3 separate regions of the Homo sapiens genome follow, and all the other regions are linked to region 1. The links are contacts of gene promoters, found by promoter capture Hi-C in human tissues and cell types (Jung and others, 2019). All regions are on one chromosome and are shown on one strand. Each heading gives the region's core, a stretch centred on a gene start or on the middle of the fragment in contact. The rest is flanking DNA. Distances are from core to core; before and after follow the strand shown. Region 1 holds the start of PRR14L (proline rich 14 like). Region 2 holds the start of LOC105372998 (a long non-coding RNA gene). Region 3 overlaps DEPDC5 (DEP domain containing 5, GATOR1 subcomplex subunit).

Region 1 (5,037 bases), core at 1,331-3,830:
CATCAAAATAAGCTCAAAGGGTCTTGTCACCCATAAATATCCTAAGACTCCAAAGAATAACTTTTCTATTTCCCTTTGTTTCAGAAAAGCACACCTACAGACACCAACAATGGTGGTATAGAGCTCCCACTAATCCCCTCTGCAATTACTCAACGGCGTTTGAGGTAATTTAAGAACACTTTACATACAAAAAAAGATGGTAAGCGTTTCTTTAGTGTGCTTTCAGGTAATTTGGCAGTGTTAATTCCTATCCCACCAAAAAAAAAAAAAAACAAAAACAGGAAAACAAACCTACCAGTGAAGGATTAACATTGTTGCTCTCAATCTCATCAGAATACATTTTATAACACTAAAAACCTGACAAAGTGGCAACTTTTAGTCATTCAAACACTCCCCAAAACAAAAGTTCTGGAGGTACAAAATTTACAGCAACAAGCAAAAAAAAAACAGAACATAAAACCGTGTGCCTCAATAATCCCGAATCTGAAAGTCTCCCCTCCCTTTAATTCCAATGCATAGGGGCTGTTAATAACACTAGGCGCTGCCATGCTTGCTTCAGGAACAATACTCACAATAATGACCAGGCCCTCAGAAGCTCACAACACTCTTTTCACCTTGAGAAAGGGGCTTTCTTTTCCAAAGATTCAGACATTGTAGCCATTCCCTCCAAGAGGGAATTTGGAGAATGGGCCTCTTCTTGAGAAACAAAGAAAGAAGAGTTTTTTAATAAAATCCCAAGACAAACCAAAAGTGAGGCAGGGAAGTTCATACACTAAACAGGGCAAGCGCTTCAACATGGAGCGTGCAGAAAATCTCTAAAGCATCAAGGACTATTTCCCATTTCCTCCCTTTAATAACATCCAGAAAAAGGATCCCTGTCTCCACGTAAGGAGTGAAACTGGAAAATGCTCCTGATTTCTACTGACAGAGGCTTCCTGTATAAAAGATTTTCCTCTGTTTTATAAAGGAAAAGGAGAAAAGAAACAATCTGTGTCATTTTCCATATACAAGAGGGAAGAGATCTCTCCTCAAAGGTATAGAGTCTTCATTTTCTTGGGAGAGCAAAAGACAGGAAGAATATGGAATCGCCCACTTGGGGGGGTGGGAAGGATGTGCAGATGGAAGATTTTTTGTCACTACAGTAAGTCAGGGAAGTGGGAGAGGGCATCTCTAACCAGTCAGGAAGAAGTGATACCTTCTGTGGACAAAGGAAGTGCTGGCGTCTGGCATCAGGTCTCACTTTCTCTTAAGAGCACAGACCTGTTTCCAAAAGCTAAGTCTTTTTTTTACTGATTATTTTCAGTGAGGCCCTCTTTGTTAATTTGGGAAAGTATTGAACAGCAGGATCTAAGGGGACTGGAAGTGTCTCTTTCTCTAACCCCTAAGTGGGAGGGAGTCTTCCACTCCAGTGAGAAAGGATGGTTGAACACTTGTGATGGAGGCTGCGAGGGGCATGCATGGAAAAATATGCTTCTCTGTGCAAGATATTAGTTTTCTTTTTTAACAGATTAAGTAATAGTAATAGCAACAGCTTACCAAAAGCTTACTATATAACTAGTATTTACACAAATGCTCCCTTAGCCCGCATGACAATTCTAAGAAAACAGAACCCAAATTGGAGATGGACTGAGATTCAGACAAGTTAAACAAATAGTCAAGGTCACAAAGACGTTAAGTGAGAGACCCAGGTTTGCAACGATTACACTCCAAAAGCCATGCTCTTAATAATGCAAGGGAAAGGAGCTCACTGCACACCAAGAGGCTTAAAGGGAAGAAGAGAAGCGAGGGTCTCTCTGTGGACATCACGAGGGGAGAGGGAGAAAGGTTGATTTCTGATACCATAAAGTAAAATTTCAAGGTCTTCCTCTCCGTATCTTGGGGTACAGGCGAAAAATAAAGGAGGAAGGTAAGTCTCTTTCTTACTGGGAAGAAAGATCCCCTCTGTCACTTTCAGGCAAGTTGGGTCTCACTCTTCACCTGGGTGACGCTGACCAAAGTTGGGGGAAAGGTCTCATTTAGGGGTTATCTTTTACTCCTCCTCAGGATAAGTTCAGAATCCCCCTCGAACCCTGGGAGTGGGTCTCCCTCTGCTGACCAACGGATGAGCGCTAAGAAAGAGCGTACGCCTCCGATAAGGGGCGTCGTCCTCTCCGAGGAGATAAGTTGGGGGATCCCTGTTGTATCGAGGTTGAAGAGGAGTCTCTCTCCCGCGTCGGAGCCATGACTCGGAGAAGCCGCTTTTCTCTAGCGACGCGGGGCCTGGTCTCCTCCCTCTCCCTGGGTCGTTCCGCCGCCCACAGGGCAGCCTTGGTTCCTTTCCGCGCCCCGAGAGGGCGGGGGGCCTGGACTCCCCTTTAGCAGCACCACCCGGCGGAGGGTCCCTTTAGGGCGGAGTGGGGCGGGGCGGCTACGCCCGAAGCCTTCCAGTCCCGGCCTCTTACCCTGAGACCTCCTCCGCGGCCCGCGCTTGCCCAGCCAGCTCAGCCCCTGCAGCTGCAGCCCCGTCGTCGCCAGGTCTACCTGAGCCTACGGAGCCGACAGAGGCCGGGGGCGCTCCGGCCGCCGCCACCTCTTCGTCTCTATGGTCCCCCTGCACTTCCTCATCCGGGGCCCGAGCCAGCCATGCGGACTCGCCCAAATCCCGCCCCCGCACCGCGCGCGCGCACTCCAAGGGAAGGCTCTTCCTGATTCTGACCTCCCGCCCTCTGCTAGCCCCAGCCTCCCTCAACCCCGCCCCTGCGGCTCAAACTCTTAAAGGGAAACACAACTTTTGGTTCTGCTCCTGCTGAGCCACAGGACCCAGTGCCGGCCTTCGCTGCTGTCACCCTGTTCCAGTCCACCGTTTTTCTAGTCTGGACGGCTACAATTCTAAGGGCCTGCCTGCTTCCACTCTGGCAGCCCGAGAGATCTTATTCTACTGGAAAGAGTGTTTTGGGTCATGACACTCCTCTGCTTCTTCTAATCACACTGACCACTAAATAAATGGCACCTCTGCCTCCAGTTGGTTACAGAACCTTGTTTTATTTTCTTCATAGCTTTAACACTAGCTGAAATTTCTATGTCTCATCTCTTTATTGACTTGTTTATCATTTATCTTCCTCCACCTTGTCTGTTTTGTTCATCACTTAATGCTCAGCACCAAGAGCAGTGTCCGGCACAAAACTAGACGCTCAATGGACATTTGAAGGAAGGAAGAAATGTTTATCCAGTGGAAGAATTGAGGTCCAGATAATGAAATCGACTTGCCCCAAATAATACGGCTTTGTGTTAAAAAATAGAAATCGACCAGGCGCGGTGTCTCACGCCTGTAATCCAGCACTTTGGGAGGCGAAAGCGGGAGAAGCACTTCAGCCCAGAAGTTTGAGACCAGCCTGGGCAACATAGTGAGACATCGTTTCTGCCAAAAAACAAACAGCTGGGTCTGGTGATGTGTGCCTGTAATCCCAGCTACTCTGGAGGCTGAGGCAGGAAGATCACTTGAGGCTGGAAGGTTGAGGCTGCAGTGAGCAGTGATAGTGCCACTGCACTCCAGCCTGGATGACACAGCAAGACTCTTTCTCAAAACAAAACAAAAATTGCTCAGGTGTTGATGCACCTGTGCTCCTAGCTACTGGGGAGCCTGAAGCAGGAGGATCGTTTGAGCCCAGGAGTTTGAAGCTGCATTGAGCTATGATGGTGCCCCCACTGCACTCCAGCCTGGGCAACAAAACAAGACACTGTCTCAAAAAAAAAAAAAAAAAAAAAAATTGAATGCTTCAAAGTTTCGTTTCTTTCTTTCTTTTTTTTTTTTTTGAGACGGGGCCACGTTCTGACACCAGGCTGGAGTGCAGTGGTAGGATCTCGGCTCACTGCAACCTCTGCCTCCCAGGTTCAAGAGATTCTCCAGCCTCAGCCTCCTGAGTAGCTGGGATTACAGGCGCATGCTACCATGCCCAGCTAATTTTTGTATTTTTAGTAGAGACAGGGTTTCACCATGTTGGCCAGGCTGGTCTTGAACTCCTGACCTCGAGTGATCCGCCTGCCTCGGCCTCCCAAAGTGCTGGGATTACAGGCGTGAGCCACCACTCCTGGCCTTCAGAGTTTCTTTATGAGAGTTGCCAAATTAAAAAGTTAAAATATTTGCCTTTTGGCCGGGCGTGGTGGCTGAAGCCTATAATCCCAGCACTTTGGGAGGCCAAGGCGGGCGGATCACGAGGTCAGGAGATCAAGACCATCCTGGCTAATACGGTGAAACCCCCTCTCTACTAAAAATTATAAACAATTAGCCAGGCGTGGTGGCGGGCACCTGTAGTCCCAGCTACTCGGGAGGCTGAGGCGGGAGAATGGCATGAACCCGGGAGGCAGAGGTTGCAGTGAGCCGAGATCGGGCCACTGCACTCCAGCCTGGGCGACAGAGGGAGACTCCGTCTCAAAAAAAAAAAAAAATTTGCCTTTTTAAGATGTCCCATTATGGACATCTCTCAGGAGAAGGAATCAAATTCCCTTGAGGGCTAAGAAGAGAGAATCCTATTAGCTTCCCCAGGGATGGAAGAATGTCCCATCAACCACCATTGCTAAAGACAAAAACTATCTTGGGGGATCTAGGTGTATCTCCTGAAGTGGCAACATAGAAACATTTTTTAACATAACATTGTTATTCTTAAAAAATTTTGTAACTGTTGCAATCCACTGTATCACATATGTTTTATTACAAGATAAACAATTTCAGCCAGGAGTGGTGGCTTGGCCTGTAGTCCCAGTCCCTTGGGAGGCTGAGGCAGAAGAATCACTTGAGCCCAGAAAATTGAGGTTGCAGTGAGCTATGATAGAACCACTGCACTGCAGCCTTGGCAACAGAGCTAGACCTGGTCTTGGGGGAAAAAAAAGGCCCGGCTACAGTGATTGGTGCCTGTAATCCCAGAACTTTGGGAGGCCAAGGCGGACGGATTACTTGAGCTCTGGAGTTTGAGACCAGCCTGGGCCACATGGCAAAACCCCGTCTCTACAAAAAATACAAAAATTAGCTGAGCATGCACCTGTAATCCCAGCTACTAGGAG
Region 2 (5,037 bases), core at 645-3,144, 180 kb after region 1:
TTCATCTGAAGCTGTGCCCTGCTGAGTTGGAGTCCTTTCTGACTCTTTAAAGATGCCTCTTGTCATGCACCCAGTCGTGACTCCTGAATATCCTCCTGGGGTTGCAAGATGCTCTTTGCAAAAAAAAAAAAAAAAAAAGGAATGCAGAAAACCCAGCCCACCCCCTGAAAATGAGACATAGAGACAAAAAACATGGTTTGAACCTCACTGCTTAGGTTTCCATGGTGGCTCCACTCTGCTGCCCTTCCCATTGGCTAGGTGTCCTGCTCCAGCTTTAGCAACAGAGACTCAGATACTCATCTCCTTCCTGATTGGCCAGGCTGTGCTGCAGTGCCATGGCAACAGAGGCAGGGGGACCAGTCTCTGCAGAACAACTTGAGTCACCATCTACCTGGGGTGGGCTGAGATCCAGAGAACTGCCTGTGGGGGATGGAAAGGGGAACAGGTAGCCCCCACCTAAGCTCACAGTCAGGTGGGAACCTCCCCGCCACCAGTTGCCCAGGGGTTTTGGAGGCTGGCGGGCTTCTCCTCCTCATCTTGTCTACCCTGTATCTTGCAGCTTCTTCCAGCCTTTTCTTGCTCCATGGGTCCTGTCTCCCTCAGAAGAAAAATCACACCACTAGCAGTGCCAGAGTTTAACTCATTCGCCCAAAGTCGTGCAAGTTACTAATAAAGGCCAGGGTTTGAACTCGTATTTATATTGCCTGGTTTAAAGGCTTTAGAGGGGCTTTGCTAGAGAATCCAGGGGTCCTCTCAGTTTTAATATCTATCCCCTTTTTATTCACCAAACAGCAAATGCATTTCAAAGCAGTCTTTCATCTAAATTATCTCATCATCTCAACAACCCTATGAGTTCGGTAAGTCAGAGATTAATGACCCATTTTATAGATGAGGACACTAGAGCCCAGAGAAGGCAAATTATTTGTTCCATGACACACAGCACATTAGTGCCAGAGCCGGGCCTTTAACCCAGGCCTTCTGAATCCTTGTCAGAGGTCTACCTTCCAAACCACTGACCTATCTATACCAGGGGGGTTCCAGGAGGGTTGGAGGCCCTCTGAGGGCTTCTCTGAGTGGTCTCCTCTGTTACAGAAGCCAGTTAGAATCAGGCAGTCCGTTGTGGACCAAGGGTTCATACCATAGCCCTAGTCTCAGCCAGGCAACCCCTCAATGTGACCCTGGTCTCCAGGAAGGGTCTGTTTTTAACTGCAAACCTTGCTCTTCCCCTCAACCCCCATTTGCCAACAGGTGAAGAAGTACTCACAAGCTTACCTGCAATCGGTTTTACTGTTTCTGTGTGCTTGAAGCTGTGCTGGGCATGCATGTTCTCATTGAATTCTCATCACAACCTTAGGAGTTCGGTCTTCACTGTCCACTCCTAATAGATGCAGAAACTGGTGCTCAGGAAGGTCAAGCCGCATCCCCAAGGTCACACAGTCATGGAGACATAATACCAACACAAGTCCACCTAACCTAAAGGAGCCTGGCTTGAACTACGGTGATGCTCTCTCTGTTCCCACAGAATGCAGAATGATAGCTAAAAGAGGCACCTGGAATCACTCCTGTAATCCCAGCAGTTTGGTAGGCTGAGATGGGTGGATCACAAGGTCAGGAGTTCGAGACCAGCCTGACCAACATGGTGAAATCCTGTCTCTACTAAAAATACAAAAATTAGCCAGGAGTGGTGGTGCATGCCTGTAATCCCAGTTACTCAGGAGGCTGAGGCAGGAGAATCCCTTGAACCCGGGAGGCGGAGGTTGCAGTAAGCTGAGATCACGCCACTGCACTCAAGCTTGGGTGACAGAATGAGACTCCGTCTCAAAAAAAAAAAAAAAAAGAAAAGAAAAGAAAAAGGCACCCTGGAGCTGATTCTTTTTCTCTTGGGTATGCATTTTTTCCTCAACTGAAGCTGTGGCTACTGGACCAATTCCTTGGCACTGGAAAAAGCAGACTCTGAGGACTCTGAGGGACTTGGAAATAGTTGGCCCCTGGGAAGTGACTCAGTGTCCCCAACACTCTCTCCCATTGCCCAGTTTCTCAGCTTGGTGATCTTACAGAAGGGCGTGGCTGGGCTGCTGGTAATTTGCAGCTGACCTGGTGGAGAGAAGCCCCAGTAACTTCCTTGGCCTGAATCTAAGCCCCTGCTGAAAATGAACATTTTGGCAGTTTCCTTTTCTTCCTACTCAACTTGGGCTCCCTGAAGCTCTTGCCCCTGAAACACAGCCCAGACACCTGGCCTGCCCTCCTGCCCTCCCAAGGGCACCGGTTTTGGAAGACACAACCAGGCAGGAGTTCCCACCTGCCACGCTGCTCCCCCAAGCACCACAGCAGCAAGGGGCAGGCACACAATCTCTCCATCAACAATTACACAGCTTCTCTGTGCCAGACACCACACACACAGGCTCAAGGGAGATGGTAGGGAACAAACCATTCTGGCCCCTGCCCTCATGGAAACTGCAGCCTCGTGGCGGAAATGCACTGCAGGTCCATAAGTGAATACATCATGGTTTCAGACAGTGATAAATGCCTTGGACAGGATGAAACAGGATAACGGCATAAACAGCAATTGGTGGGGGTTTGAGGGGGGAGGGAAGGGACTGAAGGGGAAGGGAGCAGGCACCTGAATGAGGAGGAGGCAGTTGTCTTGGTTATCTATAGCCACCTAACAAACCCCCAAACCTAGTGGCTTACAACAACCATTTGTTATTTTTTATGAGTCTGGCTGGCCTGAGTGGTTCCTCTGCCCGTTTCTCCTGGTCACACATGCAGCTGCATTCAGCTGGAGTCACAGCTGAGCTGGAAGGTCCAAGAAGGCCTCTCACACACATCTGGTGGTTGGTGCTGGCTGTTGGCTGGGGTGTCTCAGATCCCTATCACGTGGCCTCCCATCCTCCCGCTGGTAGACCAGCTGCCTTATGTGGTGGTCTAGGAGCAGCATTCCAAGAGGGGGAAGGCACAAGCTTGCAAGATCTCTTGCGGCCTAAGCTCCTGAACTCATAAAGGGTCACTTCTGCCACATTCTGTTGTCAGAGCAAGTCACAAGCCCAGCCCAGATCCAAAGGGCAAGGAAAGGGATGCCACTTCTTGATGTGAGGGGAGCAGCAAAGTATTTGTGGCCTTATTTATGAGACATGATCAGCCGGGCGTGGAGGCTCACACCTGTAATCCCAGAACTTTGGGAGGCCAGGGTGGGCAGATCATTTGAGGCCAGGAGTTCAAGACCAGCCTGGCCAACATGGTGAAACTCCATCTTTGTATTTTATAAATTTATAAATGTATACATATTATATTTTATATAAAAAGAGACATGATCCATATTGCAGAGAGTAACAAAAATGATTTCGAGGTGTACCAAAGTTGTGATTAGTATGAAATCTTTTTTTTTTAATTTTTTGAGACAGGGTCTCACTCCATTGCCCACGCTGGAGTACACTGGCACGATCATAGCTCACTGCATCCTCAAGCTCCCAGGCTCAAACAATCCTCCTGCCTTGGCCTCCTGAGTAGGCATGCACCACAACACCAGCAAGACGCTATCTTGCCCTGTTGCCCAGGCAGGACTATAGCAACACAATCATAGTTCACTGCATCCTCAAACTCCTCATCTCAAGCGATCCTCCCACCTGAGCCTCCTGAGTAGCTGGGACTACAGGAGTGTGCCACCCTGCCTGGCTATTTTTTTCTTATTTTTTGTAGCAATGGGGGTCTCACTATGATGCCCAGACTGGTCTTGAACTTATGCCTGGGGCTGTCTTCCTGCCTTGGCCTCCCAAAGTGCTGGGATTACAGGTGTCAGCCACCATGCCTGGCCTATGTGGCCATCTTTAATCTGCGACATCATCCATGTCGAGATCTCTGGGAAGAGTGTTCCGGGCAGAGGAAAAGCACCTGCAAAGACCCTGGGTTAGGATGGCATCCAGAGACCTGAGCCTTGAACAATGGTGTGATGGTTGATACTGAGTGTCAACTTGATTGGACTGAAGAATACAAAGTATTGATCCTGGGTGTGTCTGTGAGAGTGTTGCTAAAGGATATTAACATTTGACTCAGTGGGCTGGGAAAGGCAGACCCACCTTTAACCTGGGTGGGCACCATCTAATCAGCTGCCAGTGCTGCTAGAATGTAAACAGGCAGAAAAAATGTAAAAGAGAGACTGGTCTAGCCTCCCAGCCTACATCTTTCTCATGTGCTGGATGCTTCCTGCCCTCGAACATCGGACTCCAAGTTCCTCAGTTTTGAAACTGGGACTGGCTCTTCTTGCTCCTCAGCCTGCAGACGGCCTATTGTGGGACCTTGTGATCGTGTGAGTTAATATGTAATAAACTCCCCTTTATATATATATATACACACATATATATACATACACCCATATATATACATATATATACACATATACACATATATATATATATGCCATTAATTATGTCCCTCTAGAGAACCCTGGCTAATACAAATGGGTTCCTCTACTCCCTTAGTTTCCTGTCCTGTAAAGTGGGAACTAAGGATGTCTCCCTGGCTCCTTATAGGAATACAGGATGTAAGATGCTTTGCTTCAAGGCTGGGTTAGGATTTTGGTTATTGGCCAGTGGCAGGGAGGAGAGGCCAACACAGGAGCTCAGCTTGGCTTCCCCCAAGCTCACCAGCGTTTGTTGAGCACTGTCTGGCAGGAAGGCACAGTGCTCAGCACCACAGGTCATAGCTGGGGAGTCTGAGGGTTGCTGATCTTGCCAAGCTTATGGGATAAAAAGATTGCTTGCTGCCCCGGATGTGACTGAGACATACCAGATGCATCTCAGAAGAAAAGAGCTGGGAGGACTGTGGGGCTCAGGGAAGGCCTGGAGGAGATGGGGTTCCAACAGGGCTTTGAGGGGCACATAGGATTTGGCTGAAGGAGGGGAAACTGTTGATAGGAAAAGTATAAGCGGCTGTGGAATTTAGTAATTCAGTGCAACAAATGTTTGCTGAACCCCTACATACGCCACGTGAACGGGACAGACAGAGGCACTGTGAGGATCCAGAGGAGACACAACACAGGTC
Region 3 (5,037 bases), core at 1,685-4,184, 160 kb after region 1:
CTCAGGGCAGTTCAGGAGCTGTGGGTCAGAGGGGAGAATCCGACAGTGACTGCCACTTCTTGCTGTGCCATCTCACCACGTGGAGTTCATCACAAGCTCTGTTGATTTGCCTCCTCAATGGCTTTGCATCCATTCTCTTCTTCCCAGGCCCTGAGCTGCCACTCAGTCCAGCCTTCCTTTGTCTTTCTCTTAGATCCCCAGGAAAACCTTCTAATTTGTCTCTGCTTTCACTCCACTTGTCAGTCAGTCTTTTTATAAAACCACTGTGATTTTGCCCACCACTTAACTAGAACTTTTTGGTGACTTGAACTTCAAAAATCTTAGATGCAGCCCACATGGTCCTGCACAGTCTGGTCTGGTGGGCTGTTTGTACAGCCACCCTGGCCATCACACAGTCCCTGGAACATCACAAACTCTGCACCAGCTCAGACGCTTTGCACTTGCTGTTCCCTCTGTTCCATCTGCCTGGAACATGCCTCCCTCCATGCCCGCTCTGTCTCACTAACTCCTGGTGGTCAGCCATCAGCTCTTAGCTCAACTGTCACTTCTCCAGAGAAGCAGAGTTGGCCCTGTTACATCCTCCCACAGCACTTTGTACTTCTCCAGCATGGTACTCAACATGTTTACACTCTACCATGGCAGAAGCTTCTTTTTTTTTCTTTCTTTCTTTTTTTTTTTTTTTTTTTTTTGAGACATAGTCCGGCTCTGTCACCCAGGCTGGAATACAGTGGTGCGATCTCAGCTCACTGCAAGCTCCGCCTCCAGGTTCATGCCATTCTCCTGCCTCAGCCTCCCGAGTAGCTGGGACTATAGGCGCCCGCCACCATGCCCGGCTAATTTTTTGTATTTTTAGTAGAGACGGGGTTTCACCGTGTTAGCCAGGATGGTCTCGATCTCTTGACCTTGTGATCCACCCGCCTCGGCCTTCCAAAGTGCTGGGATTACAGGCGTGAGCCACCGTGCCCAGCCAAAGCTTCTCTATTTTGTTCATCTTTTTGTTCCCAAGTGTACATGATAATAGTAGATGTTGGAGAAATGGTTGTTGACTGAATGTATAGTAACTGAATGAACTTTGGATTCCAGGGCTGGGAACTGGATATTTTTTTTTTTTTTTTTTTAGAGACGGAGTCTTCCTCTGTCACCCAGGCTGGAGTGCAGTGGCTCACTGCAGCCTTCGCCTCCGGTTCAAGGTTCAAGCGATTCTCCTGCCTCAGCCTCCTGAGTAACTGGGACTACAGGCGCACATCACCACGCCTGGTTAATTTTTGTATTTTTAGTAGAGATGGGGTTTCACCGTGTTGGCCAGGATGGTCTCGATCCACTGACCTCATGATCCACCCTCCTCGGCCTCCCAAAGTGCTGGGATTACAGGCGTGAGCCACCGCGCCTGGCCTGGGCACTGGATTTTACATCTGAGTCTCCACCTTCCTAGCTAGGCTCCTTAGTTACTTCACAGAACTTGAACTTATTTAGAACTTAAAACGTGGCTATGGATGCTGCATGTAATGATTTTGAGAGAATAGGTTTGTTAATATATGTGAAAGAGCCCTGGATAATTCCTGGAAATGGAGCAGGCCTTTGATAAAAACCTGTTTTCTTTTCCTTTTTCACCTTCCCTTTTCTAAGATATGTAAATCCCCTCATCTATGAAATGGGAAGCTATCTCCTTGGGTGGTTGGAGAATCAGAAGACACATGTAGCTGGGCACGGTCGGCCCACACCTGTAATCCCAACACTTTGGGAGACTGAGATGGGAGGATCACTTGAGCCCAGGAATTTGAGATCAGCCTGAGCAACATAGGAAGACCCCGTCGCTACAAAAAAAATGAATAAATAAAATAAAATAAATAAAAAATTAGCTTGGGGCCGGGTGCAGTGACTCATGCCTGTAATCCTAACACTTTGTGAGGCCGAGGTGGTCGGATCATGTGAGGTCAGGAATTTGATACTATCCTGGCCAACATGATGAAACCCCATCTCTATGAAAAATACAAAAATTAGCCAGGCGTGGTGGTGTGCACCTATAATCCCAGCTACTTGGGAGGCTGAGGCAGGAGAACCATTTGAACCCGGGAGATGGAGGTTGCAGTGAACCGAGATTGTGCTACTGCACTCCAGCCTGGGCGACAGAGCAAGACTCCGTCTAAGAAAAAACAAAAGTTAGCTGGACATGGTGGCTCACACCTGTCATCCCAGCTACGTGAGAGGCTGAGGTGGGAAGGTCGCTTGAACTCAGGAGGTCTGCAATGAGCTGTGATTGCACCACTGCACTCCAGCCTGGGTGACAGAGCAAGACCTTATCTCAAAAAAAAAAGGCCACGTATATGAAAGGTCTTACAAAAAGACAGTAAGCAAATGTCTGCTCTCAAACAGCTGAACAGCTGCTCTCACATTCCTGGATGGGAGTCTCCATTGTGCTCTCAAGCCATTGAGTGATGGTGCTGGACACAGCAAACGCTGGCCTGTTCAGATCACATACGAACTGAACAATCACTTGTGATCCTCAGTGTCCTGTGTGTGAGGCCAAAACTGCCCCTGCAATTGCCCAGCAGAAGGCCCACAGAATGATTTGGTGGAAGAAGGGGCGGCTGGTGCGTTAGGATGCTGGGTCACTCCCCCATCAGAGCGGGACCTCAAACTTTCCTGCCCATGAGCCCCAGTCTCCTTGCTGCCTACTTTCCTGATTCCTCCTCTCTCTGGTGGGCATCTCCTTCCACCCACTTGTCCAAGCCAGAATCTGGTAGTCAAACCCAGTGCCTTCCTCCTCCATCATCCTCCAGTCCTCCCATCCATTCATCCTGTCTCTTAGACTCATCCACCTTTTTGTAGGTACAAAGCTCAGCCCACAGGGAATCTGTGGGTTTGGTCAGACATGGAGGACATGTGCATGCCGATCAGAAGCCTATCACCAGATTATACAGGCCAGGTGCGGTGGCTCACGACTGTAATCCCAGCACTTTGGAAGGCCAAGATCATCTGAAGTCAGGAGTTTGAGACCAGCCTGGCGAACATGGTGAAACCCCATCTCTACTAAAAATACAAAAGTTAGGGCCGGCCACGGTGGCTTACGCCTGTAATTCCAGCACTTTGGGAGGCCAAGGTGGGTGGATCACCTGAGGTCAGGAGTTCGAGACCAGCCTAGCCAACATGGTAAAACCCTGTCTCTACTAAAAATACAAAAGTTAGGGCTGGGCGCAGTGGCTCACACCTGTAATTCCAACACTTTGGGAGGCCAGGGCGGGTGGATCAAGAGGTCAAGAGATCGAGACCATCCTGGCCGACATGGTGAAACCCCATCTCTACTAAAAATACAAAAATTAGCTGGGCGTGGTGGTGCGTGCCTGTAGTCCCAGCTACTCGGGCGGCTGAGGCAGGAGAATTGCTTGAACTCGGGAGGCAGAGGTTGCAGTGAGCTGAGATCACACCACTGCACTCCAGCCTGGGCGATGGAACAAGACTCTGTCTCAAAAAAAAAAAAAAAATTCAAAAACTAGCCAGGCATGGTGGCGGGCGCCTGTAATCTGAGCTACTCAGGAGGCTGAGGCGGGAGAATCACTTGAACCTGGGAGGCAGAGGTTGCAGTGAGCCGAGATCGCATCACTGCACTCCAGCCTGGGCGACAGGGAGACCCTGTCTCAAAAAAAAAAAAGGAAGGGATACATGATGTATGCCAGAGACACTGCGCAAATCTGTGAGGCCTTGCTGAAGCAGATAGCGAATACTGGGAGGGAATGCTGAATAGAAGCCATTTTACAGGCCTCTTCAGTTACCCAGAAAAGTTCAGAAAAACACAGAATAACAATGGTCACTCCATTGAGTGCTTCCTGTGTCCTGGGCAATGTGTCATACACCTTTTCATTGCATGATCTTTGTTGTTGTTGTTGAGACGAGATCTTGCTCTGTTGCCCAGGCTGGAATGCAGTGGCAGAATCTTGGTTCACTGCAACCTCTGCCTCCCAAGTTCAAGCAATTCTCCTGCCTCAGCCTCCCCAGTAGCTGGGACTACAAGGGCATGCCACCACATCCAGCTAATTTTTGTAATTTTAGTAGAGACAGGGTTTCACCATATTGGTCAGTCTGATCTCGGACTTCTGACCTCAAATGATCCACCCACCTCGGCCTCTCAAAGTGCTGGGATTGCAGGCATGGGACACTGCACCTGACTCATTGTATAATCTTATCAACATACCAGCTGAGGGGTGGAAGGCCCCAGGAAGTAGGGTCCACGCCCATACGCTAACAAACAGCTGGACTGGGAATCAGGTTCATGGGAATCAGCCCAGTCACCACCAACTGTGCTGCCCTCTTCACCTTTTTGTGGTGCTGTATCAATGAGATGCCACCCACTGCTCCATCCTGGGTTCCTGCCTGGGGACCCCTTCGTTCCTTTCAACTGACTGCCTTACGTGTATGGTGAATCTCTGCATGGGTACAGATGCAGTGTAACATGTAGACATGGCCTCATATACAGGTTCTCTGGTAGGGAATGGGCAGTGACTCAGTGACTTTGAGGCAGGACCAGTGGCCTTTCCTCCCTGCCAGGCTTCTATCTGGAAGGCACTGTGTGTGCCCTCTCTTCTGGTCTGCAGCTGTGGCTTCAGCCTGCAAGTGCTTCAGGCAGCTCCTGGCCTTCAGACTGTGCCACACACTTGCCCTAAACCTGGCCTGAAATGCCTGGGATGTAGCATTTGCATGTAGCAAAAGCTGGTGCCGAGTACTGAGTCCTACCAGCCTTCAGATTTGACCTCCATCTGCTTCTCTGGCTGCAGCAAGATTCCTGTTTCCTCAGTGAATCAGCACATAGTCCTTCCAACAAGAAAATCTCTTTTCCCATGGGGATGAGGGGAGATGGGGAATTGCTATGCAATCTCTGGAAAAGTCTTTTCTCCCTGAGCCCCAGAATTTTCATCTGAACTCATCTGGGAGAAACATTGGGGACCATAAGATTATATATAGACTTTTTCCTTTCTCAACCAACAGGATGGATGAGTGCTGAGGGGGGAATTCCAGTCTGTTTCAGTCCCACAGTTGCCACTG

Evidence for each region. The method cuts DNA at HindIII sites, captures the fragments that hold promoters and counts their contacts. A contact is called where the count stands out against the background at its distance.
Region 2: a fragment that was not itself captured here is called in contact with the fragment with the promoter of PRR14L in region 1 in 4 of the 25 tissues and cell types used here (dorsolateral prefrontal cortex, heart right ventricle, mesenchymal stem cells and 1 more).
Region 3: a fragment that was not itself captured here is called in contact with the fragment with the promoter of PRR14L in region 1 in 1 of the 25 tissues and cell types used here (aorta).

What each region holds. Positions count from the first base shown.
Region 1 is chr22:31,747,552-31,752,588 of GRCh38, forward strand. It overlaps PRR14L (proline rich 14 like), which reads right to left and starts at 2,581. Exons shown (of 9, transcript NM_173566.3): 1 at 2,442-2,581. RefSeq lists enhancers at 1,591-2,223, 2,463-3,022, 2,512-2,806. The HindIII fragment of the contact is 11,409 bases long and covers 1-5,037 here.
Region 2 is chr22:31,926,891-31,931,927 of GRCh38, forward strand. It overlaps LOC105372998 (a long non-coding RNA gene), which reads right to left and starts at 3,203. Exons shown (of 3, transcript XR_001755494.2): 1 at 1,273-3,203; 2 at 209-420. It overlaps LOC124905102 (a long non-coding RNA gene), which reads left to right and starts at 384. Exons shown (of 2, transcript XR_007068064.1): 1 at 384-472; 2 at 560-694. RefSeq lists a silencer at 220-420. The HindIII fragment of the contact is 3,903 bases long and covers 1-3,846 here.
Region 3 is chr22:31,907,753-31,912,789 of GRCh38, forward strand. DEPDC5 (DEP domain containing 5, GATOR1 subcomplex subunit) reads left to right here. Exons shown (of 43, transcript NM_001242896.3): 43 at 1-281. Among named protein-coding and RNA genes, the nearest start is that of YWHAH, 34 kb to the right of the region's middle. RefSeq lists an enhancer at 4,417-4,916. The HindIII fragment of the contact is 4,251 bases long and covers 810-5,037 here.